Linked DNA regions of Homo sapiens: region 1 is linked to region 2. Evidence: promoter capture Hi-C in 16 types of primary human blood cells and fetal thymus (Javierre and others, 2016). All regions are on one chromosome and are shown on one strand. The core of a region is centred on a gene start or on the middle of the fragment in contact, and the rest is flanking DNA. Distances in the headings are between cores, read along the strand shown.

Region 1 (5,316 bases), core at 2,659-5,158, 440 kb before region 2:
TTCACCTTAGAAGAAAATATTTAATTTTAAAAAATAACTGATATGTGATAAACTAAGAGTTGGTAGGTGCCAGATATACCTTTTTGCTTTTTTAAAGAAAGCACAGCTGCTGGGGTAATCAGTCTTAATTACATTTTTTACATATGTCTACTAAAAATATGAAAATTATATCTGAAGGTGGCACACTCGTGATGAGAATGTAAAAAGCATAGAAAATATATTTGTGGTCCTAGGTCCTAGTTCCCAACAATGTCTTCCTATTTAAACCATGTGTTAATTGTCCCCAAGGATACAAAATTAGGTTGAATATCAGAGTACAAGTTGTACTAATACTAAATACCAAAATACAAATGAAAAGTAACTAAATTTTGTGTGTATTTAAGTCATAATTTTTAATACTACACTACGGCTTCTATTAATGCTAGACAAATTGCCAGCATCCTGCAAGAATCCTCCACCTTGCCCAGGCCTTTGAAGCACATCCTTTCTCCCAGAGGGGGCGCTCTTTGATGCTCCAGAACTTCAGTCCCAATTGGCTATTGCGCCTCTGATCTCTGCTTGAGTTCTCACTGTCTCTCTGTTCATCTTCAGTTACAAGGCTCCCAGGATACCTCTCCACCCCAGGTCATGCCTGGCCAATCCCAGCCTTCTCTGAACTTGCTCTGCAGTAGAGACAGTGGCTGTTGGTGTAATAAACACCTGTTCTCCACTTGGTTCATAGATACAGAGTGTAGGACTTCCAGCTGGGCTTAGAAATCTCTGGATCCCTCACAGCACCTATGTAGAGTTGTCTACACTCAGTGAACGCTCTAGATTAAGTCAGGGCAGATGGTTTCCAAGCTCATTTTGAACTCCAAGCAAGACTTAAAATGTTACTATTTTTGTTGGTTTTTAAACAGCCAACGTGGGGATTTTTTTTTAAGTGAGATATTTCTGAATATTCCCACCAAGTTATTTTGAATCTGATAAATTCTCTTGTACATAATGTCTACAAAGTAGGACTGGAGAATACAAAACTGACCATGGAGAGTCAGTGTTTCAAATTCCTGCTCTGGGTGATGACTGCCTCAGGCTTCCTGGTGGACCAGGTTCCTTACAAGGCAAGAGGACATACCCTCTCCTTGGTGATGGAGTTCAAAACATGCTACCCCAAAATATGGCACCTTGTCATTTGAGAAAAAGCAGAAATGGGATGGTCACTCTCATTTCACCCACCTCCCCTTCTCCCATGAAGCAGGTCATAAGACCCTCATGGGAGAGGTACCCTCTCTTTACCTAAAGAAAAGTGCCTAAGACACAGATGCCAAGAAGAACCTGAACAAACAGGCCTTGCTAAGTTCCCCCCACTTATTACCATTAGATCAGACCTTTATCCAATCATACGTCTCCATGACTGTTCACTCTTCAACAGACTTAGCATAGAAACACAGAAGTTTAACTATTTTTTTAGGTCTTCATTTCCTTATGAAGACTCCTGTGTCATTTAGATTAAAGGCCAGATGTGGTGGCTCACATCTGTAATCCCAGCACTTTGGGAGGCTGAGGCTGAGGATCACTTGAGCCCAGGAGTTCGAGACCAGCCTGAGCAACATAATGAGACCTCACCTTTATGAAAAATTTAAAAAATTAGCCAGGTGTGGTGGTGCATGGCTGTGCATGCCCAGTTACTTGAGAGGCTGAGCTGGGAGGATCACTTGAGCCTAAGAGGTCGAGGCTGCAGTGAGCTGTGATCATACCACTGCACTAGAACCTGGGCAACAGACAGACCTTATCTCAAACAAACAACAACAACAACTTGTATTAAGTAAATTTGCATGCTTTTCTCTCATTAAACTATCTCTTGTTATAGGGGCCTCAGCTGTGAACCTAGGATGGAAGAGGAAAAGATTCTTCTCTTCCCCCCATTAGCAAATCCAGGTCTGATTCCAGATCATTTTGTGAGCTTGAAACTGCCTACCCTGTTCTAACCTCATATGACAAGTTACTCATCTATTTGGGGGTAATGCTAGGAAGATCTTATACACGGCATTGATCAAGCTTTTTCTAATGCCTGGAAAGTGCCACATAAATCACCTAAAATGTCAAATAAAAGCCTAAATGACATATTTAATTATAAAAATTATGTTTTATGATTACCCTGGCTCAGTAGATTTTGGTTTAATTGCCTCTCTGAAAAGTCCCAAGCTAACTGATAATTAATGAACAAATTCTTTTTGATCTATAATGAAATCATAGATTATAGGGGTTCCCACACTCATGCCTTCTAGTTCGCACTTCTTCCTTCTGAAAATCTCAATTTTTAACAGGTTGACAGACGTTCAATTCTGTTTTGAAACGCAAAGTAGTCTGAATCCACTTCAGAGACAAATGATCCCCTCGGATGTGGGAAAACATGCAAGGATTTGCTTTTGCAAGCCATAGTCTCACAAAGATGAGGAGTTCCTGACAGTACATCCAGGCTCACGTTTCAAAATGGAGAATTACAATGCAACATGTTGACAGTACTAGGATGTGGCTGCCATTCCTTACTTTGTTTGCTTCCTTCAAAAGAAAGTGCTTTTTTTTTTTTTAATGTTGGGGGCTTAAAAGAGGAGTGAAAGGTGAAACAAAGGGTTATACAGACAAGTTTTGTGCATTTCTAACTTTGCACTGGAAATCTACTCCTGACTTACTGCAGTCATCTTGAAGCTTAAAATCCAAGATCACTGGCCTTGCTGATTTTCCTTCTATCAATGACCACAAATGCCCCAGTCTCAAAACCCCAGCATCATTGTTGACCAGTATGATCATATGTTCAATTTGCCTAGGAAAGTCCCAGTTTGTGCCTGTTTTCCCACTGTCCTGACCAGTGTAGCATTTGTCTTGGAAAATGTCCTAGGTTGGACAATACATTTTATGATCACTCTATTTCTCCTCTTTCCCCTGAAAATCCTGATCCTTTTTCCTTTGTGTGACCTGGTCATTCATTCCTTTATTTTAATTCTACCACCTTTATGAACTGCACTGATATACTACTCCCCCATCAGTGATCTCCAGTCTCTAATCGATTATACACATGAAGCTACTGCTCTGAAGCCCTGGATATCTTCTCCTTATTTAATGGATTAAATCCAAATTCAGGCATTCAAGATTTTCACATCCTGGTCCTTTTGCTGTTTCTGCAGCCTTGCCTGCAATGTCTCCCTGATGTAATATGTGGGTCCAGCACAATTGCTTGCTCAGCCTCCTACGCACTGTCATATGCATCTGCTTCTGTGATACAGTTGCTCAAGCTGCTCTGCTCTCTTTTATCTAAGACCTACTCTCCTTTCAAGACCAACTCAACTCTCACTTCCTCCCGAAAGCTTTCTCTGCTGTCCCTGCCTTCGATCAATCACCTCTCCTACATGACGCTCCAGCAACAAGTAACCTCAAAACTACTGACTGAACACTTAGCACAGCCTACCTTGCATTCTTCTTTGTCTCTTTCATGCCTCAGTTCTGTCTCTCCAGGTAGACCTTAAACTCATCAAGAGCAAGGATCTTTTCTTATAATTTTTCTTATAATTTTCTTTCCTCCAACAGCCACCAAAATCTGCTGACAGAAGGCAGGAGGCAGCATAAAATACAGGAAAAGCACTGGACGTAGCATGATTTGTCTTAGACTTGCCACTTACTATCTGTGAAACTTGGGGAAAGGTTTACCTCTCATCCTCAGTTTCCGCATCTACACATTGGGGGATGAGGATGAAACCAGTACCTGCCGTGCCTTCATTACCAAGTGGTTGTGAGAATCAGGTAAAGTGAGTGTGTTCTGAATTACAAAGATTTACATACATGAGGAATTAGTTAACATTTTTTTGATGATGGTAATAACATCATCAAAGACATCTAGCCACAACTTAATCAGAACTACCTATCATATGGTGCTTCAGAGAATTCAAATTCAATTCCTTTCTCTGAACACTCATGAGAAAAAAAAAAAAAAGCTAGGATAAGTATCAGCCTTGAGGCTCCCATATTTCATTTCCTCTCTTCAAAGCCAAAGTCTTTAAAGACCTGAGTGTGGAATATGAAAGGCAGGAGTGAGGGAAAGTGACCAGTTAACATCTCTAGTCCTTCCAGCGTTTCAGACTCTTTCAAGTACTTTTCTCTCATCTGCAAAACATCCTTTTGAGATACTGGAACCAATACTATGAGCCCTTTGAAAAAAAGAAAAGGGGAAAAGTAACATGCAGCTTCCAAAAAAAAAAAAAAATCTAACATTTAGCAGGAGTAGGTTGGGGCATGGTGATTTTGGAATCAGTCACACTTTACAATTCCAGCTTCAGGCTTGACTGAAGTGTTCCAGGTGGGCAGCTCTTCTAGAACTTTCCCTGTAGCAGAAGTCTGTTCACTGATGGATGTTTGTGGCAGGAGCCAAGCGAATTAGTCAGATAAAATATAAGCGTGAAAACAGGAAAGTGGTTCTCCTGAAGTTTCTTTTCTAGCTGTAAGCTTCCACACCACAGAATAGTCAATCACATTACAGCCCACAAGAAAAACCTGAAAGAATCATGTTCAGCTGACCTCAAACCACATATTCTTAGCTAATAAAACATCCTTGCATCAGGTCTCAAGAACACAAACTCAAAGCTAATATAAGATAGCAATTCTGCAAGACAGTTTGCCCCTGGTAATTATACTAAAAATAAAAAAAAGGCAGCCAACTGGTGAGGTTGTCTGTTCTTTTTAGAAAAGATATTTCATGTTCCCTCAAGCTTCATTATCAGTGATTGGCTTGGATGAATGGGCGGCTTCCAACAGCTTTTACCCAAGGCCAGGCTTGACAAATGTGGCATGATTTTGGCAGTGCTCGGGCTCTGATTCAGTCTTCAAATGTCTGGCATGGAACATGAACTTCTGAACCTGACCTAAAGCTATTATGGGCTTTAAATTTTCAAGCAATTGCATCATTAAGCAACCAGCATGCGATGGCATTACTATCTTATCCACTGCCTAAATACCACAATGCATTTAAAGGAAGTTGACATAAATCAGCAATGAAAGGCACAGATGACGGCAATAAGAAATGGCCCATCATTAAGGTTCATTCAAAAGCATACAGGTTGGAACTGCAGCACATTCAATTTTAAAATGCAGATATGACACAAATTCAGAAAGCTATGAAGAGCAATTTGTGAATTTTCACCAAATAGCATATGCTCTGAGAAATTTTTGTCTAAGTGTTCTCCAAGGTAGCTTTGTAGTGGTGGAGTTTCTTCCTTTTCTTTCTTAAACCTCTGCTCCAAGAAGAGACAAAGCATCCACATTCAATTATAAGAGTTTTCTTTTTCA
Region 2 (5,188 bases), core at 2,585-5,084:
GAAATACCGGGTAATTGCTGACAAACTGAAAGGACTGTCTGAATTGTAATTTGGACAAGGGAATTGATTTTAATAGGACTTTTGGGTTTTAAAAATTCCTAGTAAAGGGCCGGGCACGGTGGCTGACGCCTGTAATCCCAGCACTTTGAGAGGCCGAGGCAGGCAGATCACGAGGTCAGGAGATCGAGACCATCCTGTGTAACATGGTGAAACCCCGTTTCTACTAAAAATACAAAAAAAAAATTAGTCGGGCCTGGTGGCGGACGCCTGTAGTCCCAGCTACTTGGGAGGCTGAGGCAGGAGAACGGCGTGAACCTGGAAGGCGGAGCTTGCAGTGAGCCGAGATCACACCACTGCACTCCAGCCTGGGTGAGAGCGAGACTCCGTCTCAACAACAACAACAACAAAATTCCTAGTAAAGAATTCAGCTGTCATCCTTATTTTGAAAATTAATCCTAGAGTTAAAGCTAGTTGAGCATTCACTGCCAGGTTGGAAGTGCCGACCAATGAACTTTTTAAGTTAAAAAAAAAGGGGTTATATTAGTATTTAAGTTATGCCAAATATTTTAGATATTAAAGAAAGTTGTATTTACAATTATATTGTTTAATTCTCAATATATTACCAAATATATAGTTTATTTAAAGATGGGAAAAATTAAAATCTACTTATGTTTGAGTTCTAATCCTATTTTGCTATGCAAATCTAATCCTGATTTGCATAGCAAAATCAAGATTAGATTATAATGTTGCTAAATGCAACATTATAATTATGCATTCCACTAAAACTGTGCAATTTGTGAGAAAGTCCTTTCTACTCTCTCTGCTCCTTTTGTTCTTAATTCTAAGGCCAAGTTTTTAGTTTAGATTTTTAAAGTAAAAATGGAACACCTATTCAGTTAAATTTGTTTTTATGTCATAAATCATTACTCGTTGGAACACAATATTCAGTGAAGACTTTTTTTTTTTTTTTGATATGGAGTCTTGCTCTGTCACCAGGCTGGAGTGCAGTGGCATGATCTGGGCTCACTGCAACCTCTGCCTCCCGGGTTCAAGCTACTCCCCTGCCTCAGCCTCCTGAGTAGCTGGAACTACAGGCGCGCGCCACCACGCCCAGCTACATTTTGTATTTTTAGCAGAGACAGGGTTTCACCATGTTGGCCAGAATGGTCTCGATCTCTTGATCTCGTGATTCGCCTGCCTCGGATTCCCAAAGTGCTGGGACTACAGGCGTACGCCACCGTGCCCGGCCTCAGTGTAGATATTTTTTAAAGCCAAGAAAGCCATAAGTATTGCACAAGTTATACACGTACCTGAATTTACATGCACACATAGATATCAGTTCATGGGACTCACTCTCCTGTTTAAGATATGACCAGAGGCTTGTAACGACAATGTAGAATTCTAAGACAGCACAATAAAACAATCATAAACTAACCACTTCCCTTTGCCAAGTTTAGCAAAGTGGATGGAACAGGAAAAAAGATGTTCATGATAATCCTATTTCATATAGATTAAGGCTGGATTAAGGTGCAGCCATTCAGATAAGGGGAGGGGTATTAAATTATCCGAAGGTCTCATTTGGTTACTATTATTTCTTAAGGCTTTTTTAAGGCTAAAGACGGCTGAAAGTCACTGGACACCTTTGTAGCCTTGTCATCTGGTCCTGGCCAGATCTGAGTTGAGAAAAACCAGCCTCAGATCCGCCTCTGCAGGAGTTGGGCGCTCCCCACTCCCTGCACGCCCCGACTCCAACACTGGCTTCAGCTTCAATCCCAGAAAAGTGGATCAAAACGACAGGTTCCACGAACAAACACTGCGCCGGCGCCTCTACTTTGGAGAAAAGGAAAAGGGCGTGAGGTTTCGGTCATTTTTGTCAAAGGAAATCAGATGAAAAGGGGTGTACAAAGGACCAGGTCTCGTGAGCGCAGCCAATCTTGTCCGCTCCCAAGCGACTCAGGCTCTTGGCAGGACTTGCTGTAGAGTCCCAGACGGAGTTAGCCACTGAGTCCTTCAGCGACCCAGGAAATAACAACACTGTTGGCAGGTGGGGGAGGGCGCCCGGGAAGATATCCAATAGTGGCGTCAGGCAAGAGGACAGAAATGCTCCTTTCATTCACCTTTCGAAGCAGAGCATTTGGTCCCCGTTGGCCTCTGACTCTCTGTTGCGGCAATCTAGATGTTACCAGAATTCCCGTGTTTCCTTCATATTCAAAGGCACAGGAAATCTGGGGTGCAAGCGGACTGCTGTCTCTCAAGGAATAGAAGTCTGTGACAAACGTATAGAAATGAGTTTCATGTTGAACAAGATCCGTTTCTGCGTTCCTCCCTCATCCAGCCTTGATTCTCCAGATGCTTACCAACTTCTTAATATTTACCTCAACTGCAAGGCTTTCAACCGGCGCTTTTGTTAGAATACTACTATCTTCCCATTAAAGCAATGTCCACACTCAGTTTGCTTGGTGAAAATGTTAATAACGCACACTTAGAAAAACGGTGATAACCGTTGCTTGCATAAAGTGGCCATTTGAATAGACTTTGGATCTGATTTAGAGATTTAGGGATGGATGTTTTAAAAAAAGCAAAAGTAGTAACAGACTATAGCATTGGTAATGTGTGTGTGCATATATACATATTATTTTTAAAAAAATAAAGTTCGATTATTTCACCTGGCTTGTCAGTCACCTATGCAGGCGTCTGAGCCCCCGGGTTTCCAGGAGCCCCCCGTATAAGGACCCCAGGGACTCCTCTCCCCACGCGGCCGGGCCGCCCGCCCGGCCCCCAGCCCGGAGAGCTGCCACCGACCCCCTCAACGTCCCAAGCCCCAGCTCTGTCGCCCGCGTTCCTTCCTCTTCCTGGGCCACAATCTTGGCTTTCCCGGGCCGGCTTCACGCAGTTGCGCAGGAGCCCGCGGGGGAAGACCTCTCGTGGGGACCTCGAGCACGACGTGCGACCCTAAATCCCCACATCTCCTCTGCCGCCTCGCAGGCCACATGCACCGGGAGCCGGGCGGGGCAGGCGCGGCCCGCAAGGACCCCCGCGATGGAGACGCAACACTGCCGCGACTGCACTTGGGGCAGCCCCGCCGCGTCCCAGCCGCCTCCCGGCAGGAAGCGTAGGTGTGTGAGCCGACCCGGAGCGAGCCGCGCCCTCGGGCCAGCGTGGGCAGGGCGCCGCAGCCTGCGCAGCCCCGAGGACCCCGCGTCGCTCTCCCGAGCCAGGGTTCTCAGGAGCGGGCCGCGCAGGAGACGTTAGAGGGGGTTGTTAGCGGCTGTTGGGAGAACGGGTCACGGAAACAGTCCCTTCCAAAGCCGGGGCCATCGTGGGGTGGGCGAGTCCGCCCTCCCAGGCCGGGGGCGCGGACCAGAGGGGACGTGTGCAGACGGCCGCGGTCAGCCCCACCTCGCCCGGGCGGAGACGCACAGCTGGAGCTGGAGGGCCGTCGCCCGTTGGGCCCTCAGGGGCCTGAACGCCCAGGGGTCGCGGCGAGTCCACCCGGAGCGAGTCAGGTGAGCAGGTCGCCATGGCGATGCGGCCCCGGAGAGCGCACGCCTGCCGCGGTCGGCATGGAAACGCTCCCGCTAGGTCCGGGGGCGCCGCTGATTGGCCGATTCAACAGACGCGGGTGGGCAGCTCAGCCGCATCGCTAAGCCCGGCCGCCTCCCAGGCTGGAATCCCTCGACACTTGGTCCTTCCCGCCCCGCCCTTCCGTGCCCTGCCCTTCCCTGCCCTTCCCCGCCCTGCCCCGCCCGGCCCGGCCCGGCCCTGCCCAACCCTGCCCCGCCCTGCCCCGCCCAGCCGGCCACCTCTTAACCGCGATCCTCCAGTGCACTTGCCAGTTGTTCCGGACACATAGAAAGATAACGACGGGAAGAGCGGGGCCCGCTTTGGGGTCCAGGCAGGTTTTGGGGCCTCCTGTCTGGTGGGAGGAGGCCGCAGCGCAGCACCCTGCTCGTCACTTGGGATGGAGACCGGCTTTCCCGCAATCATGTACCCTGGATCTTTTATTGGGGGCTGGGGAGAAGAGTATCTCAGCTGGGAAGGACCGGGGCTCCCAGATTTCGTCTTCCAGGTAACGTGGGTTTAGTATCCCGACTTGGAGGCTTGTCAGAATGTTTCTCTCCTTCCAGCCCAACACGAAGTCTTGGGATAAAAAGCCTCCCTCAGGGATTCAAATAACTGTTTTGATTCAGAGCAACTTTGATCGCCTGTGCGGTCGCACCTGCCCTTTCAGCCCCAATAATTACTGGGAAGATCAGCAATTGGTGTTAGTCCCATTGCTTGGTGCTCTCCCTCCTAGAGGTTCGCTGTGTCCTTGGAGCCCGGGGTGGACGGAATCGACTAAACAGCTTGTCTGTTTCTCTTTCCCTGGTAGCAGCAGCCCGTGGAGTCTGAAGCAATGCACTGCAGCAACCCCAAGAGTGGAGTTGTGCTGGCTACAGTGGCCCGAGGTCCCGATGCTTGTCAGATACTCACCAGAGCCCCGCTGGGCCAGGATCCCCCGCAGAGGACAGTGCTAGGGCTGCTAACTGCAAATGGGCAGTACAGGAGGACCTGTGGCCAGGTAATGACTCAGACGCATTGAGAATGATGCTTGTGGAGAACAGCTCTCCTGCTTTGGTGCCAGGTGCTTTTCTCTTGCCCTTGTACCTACAACTCCCCCTGAGTATTACAACCCTGGAATCTGGACTACAGGAAAGTTGATTGATTTATTTTCTTTCTTTCTTTCTTTCTTTCTTTCTTTCTTTCTTTCTTTCTTTCTTTCTTTCTTTCTTTCTTTCTTTCGTTCTTTCTTTCTTTCTTTTCTTTCTCTTTCTTTCCTTCTTTCTTTTTCTTTGTTTCTCTTCCTTCTTCCTTTCCTTTTTTTTTCTTTCCTTTCCTTTCCTTCTTTTTTTTTTTTTGAGACGGAGTTTCGCTCTTGTCGCCAGGCTGGAGTGCAGTGACGCGATCTCGGCTCACTGCAACCTCCACCTCCCGGGTTCAAGCGATTCTCCTGCCTCAGCCTCCCGAGTAGCTGGGATTTCAGGCACCCACCACCACGCCCGGCTAATTTTTGTGTTTTTAGTAGAGATGGGATTTCACCATGTTGGCCAGGCTGGTCACCAACTCCTGACCTCAGGTGACCCGCCCACCTCGGCCTCCCAAAGTGTTGGGATTACAGGCGTCAGCCACGGTGGCAGGCCAGTTGATT

Evidence for each region. The method cuts DNA at HindIII sites, captures the fragments that hold promoters and counts their contacts. A CHiCAGO score of 5 or more calls a contact.
Region 1: a contact is called between a fragment that was not itself captured here and the fragment with the promoter of CCNA1 in region 2, in 2 of 17 cell types (M0 macrophages and M1 macrophages). The highest score is 5.2, in M0 macrophages.

Annotation. Positions count from the first base shown.
Region 1 is chr13:35,989,887-35,995,202 of GRCh38, forward strand. All of the region lies in intron 3 of DCLK1 (doublecortin like kinase 1), which reads right to left. Among named protein-coding and RNA genes, the nearest start is that of DCLK1, 140 kb to the right of the region's middle. RefSeq lists an enhancer at 3,596-4,097. The HindIII fragment of the contact is 1,132 bases long and covers 3,343-4,474 here.
Region 2 is chr13:36,428,661-36,433,848 of GRCh38, forward strand. CCNA1 (cyclin A1) reads left to right here and starts at 3,835. Exons shown (of 9, transcript NM_001413923.1): 1 at 3,835-4,069; 2 at 4,373-4,561. The coding sequence starts at 4,397. RefSeq lists silencers at 3,139-3,208, 3,489-3,538, 3,569-3,728. The HindIII fragment of the contact is 15,627 bases long and covers 1-5,188 here.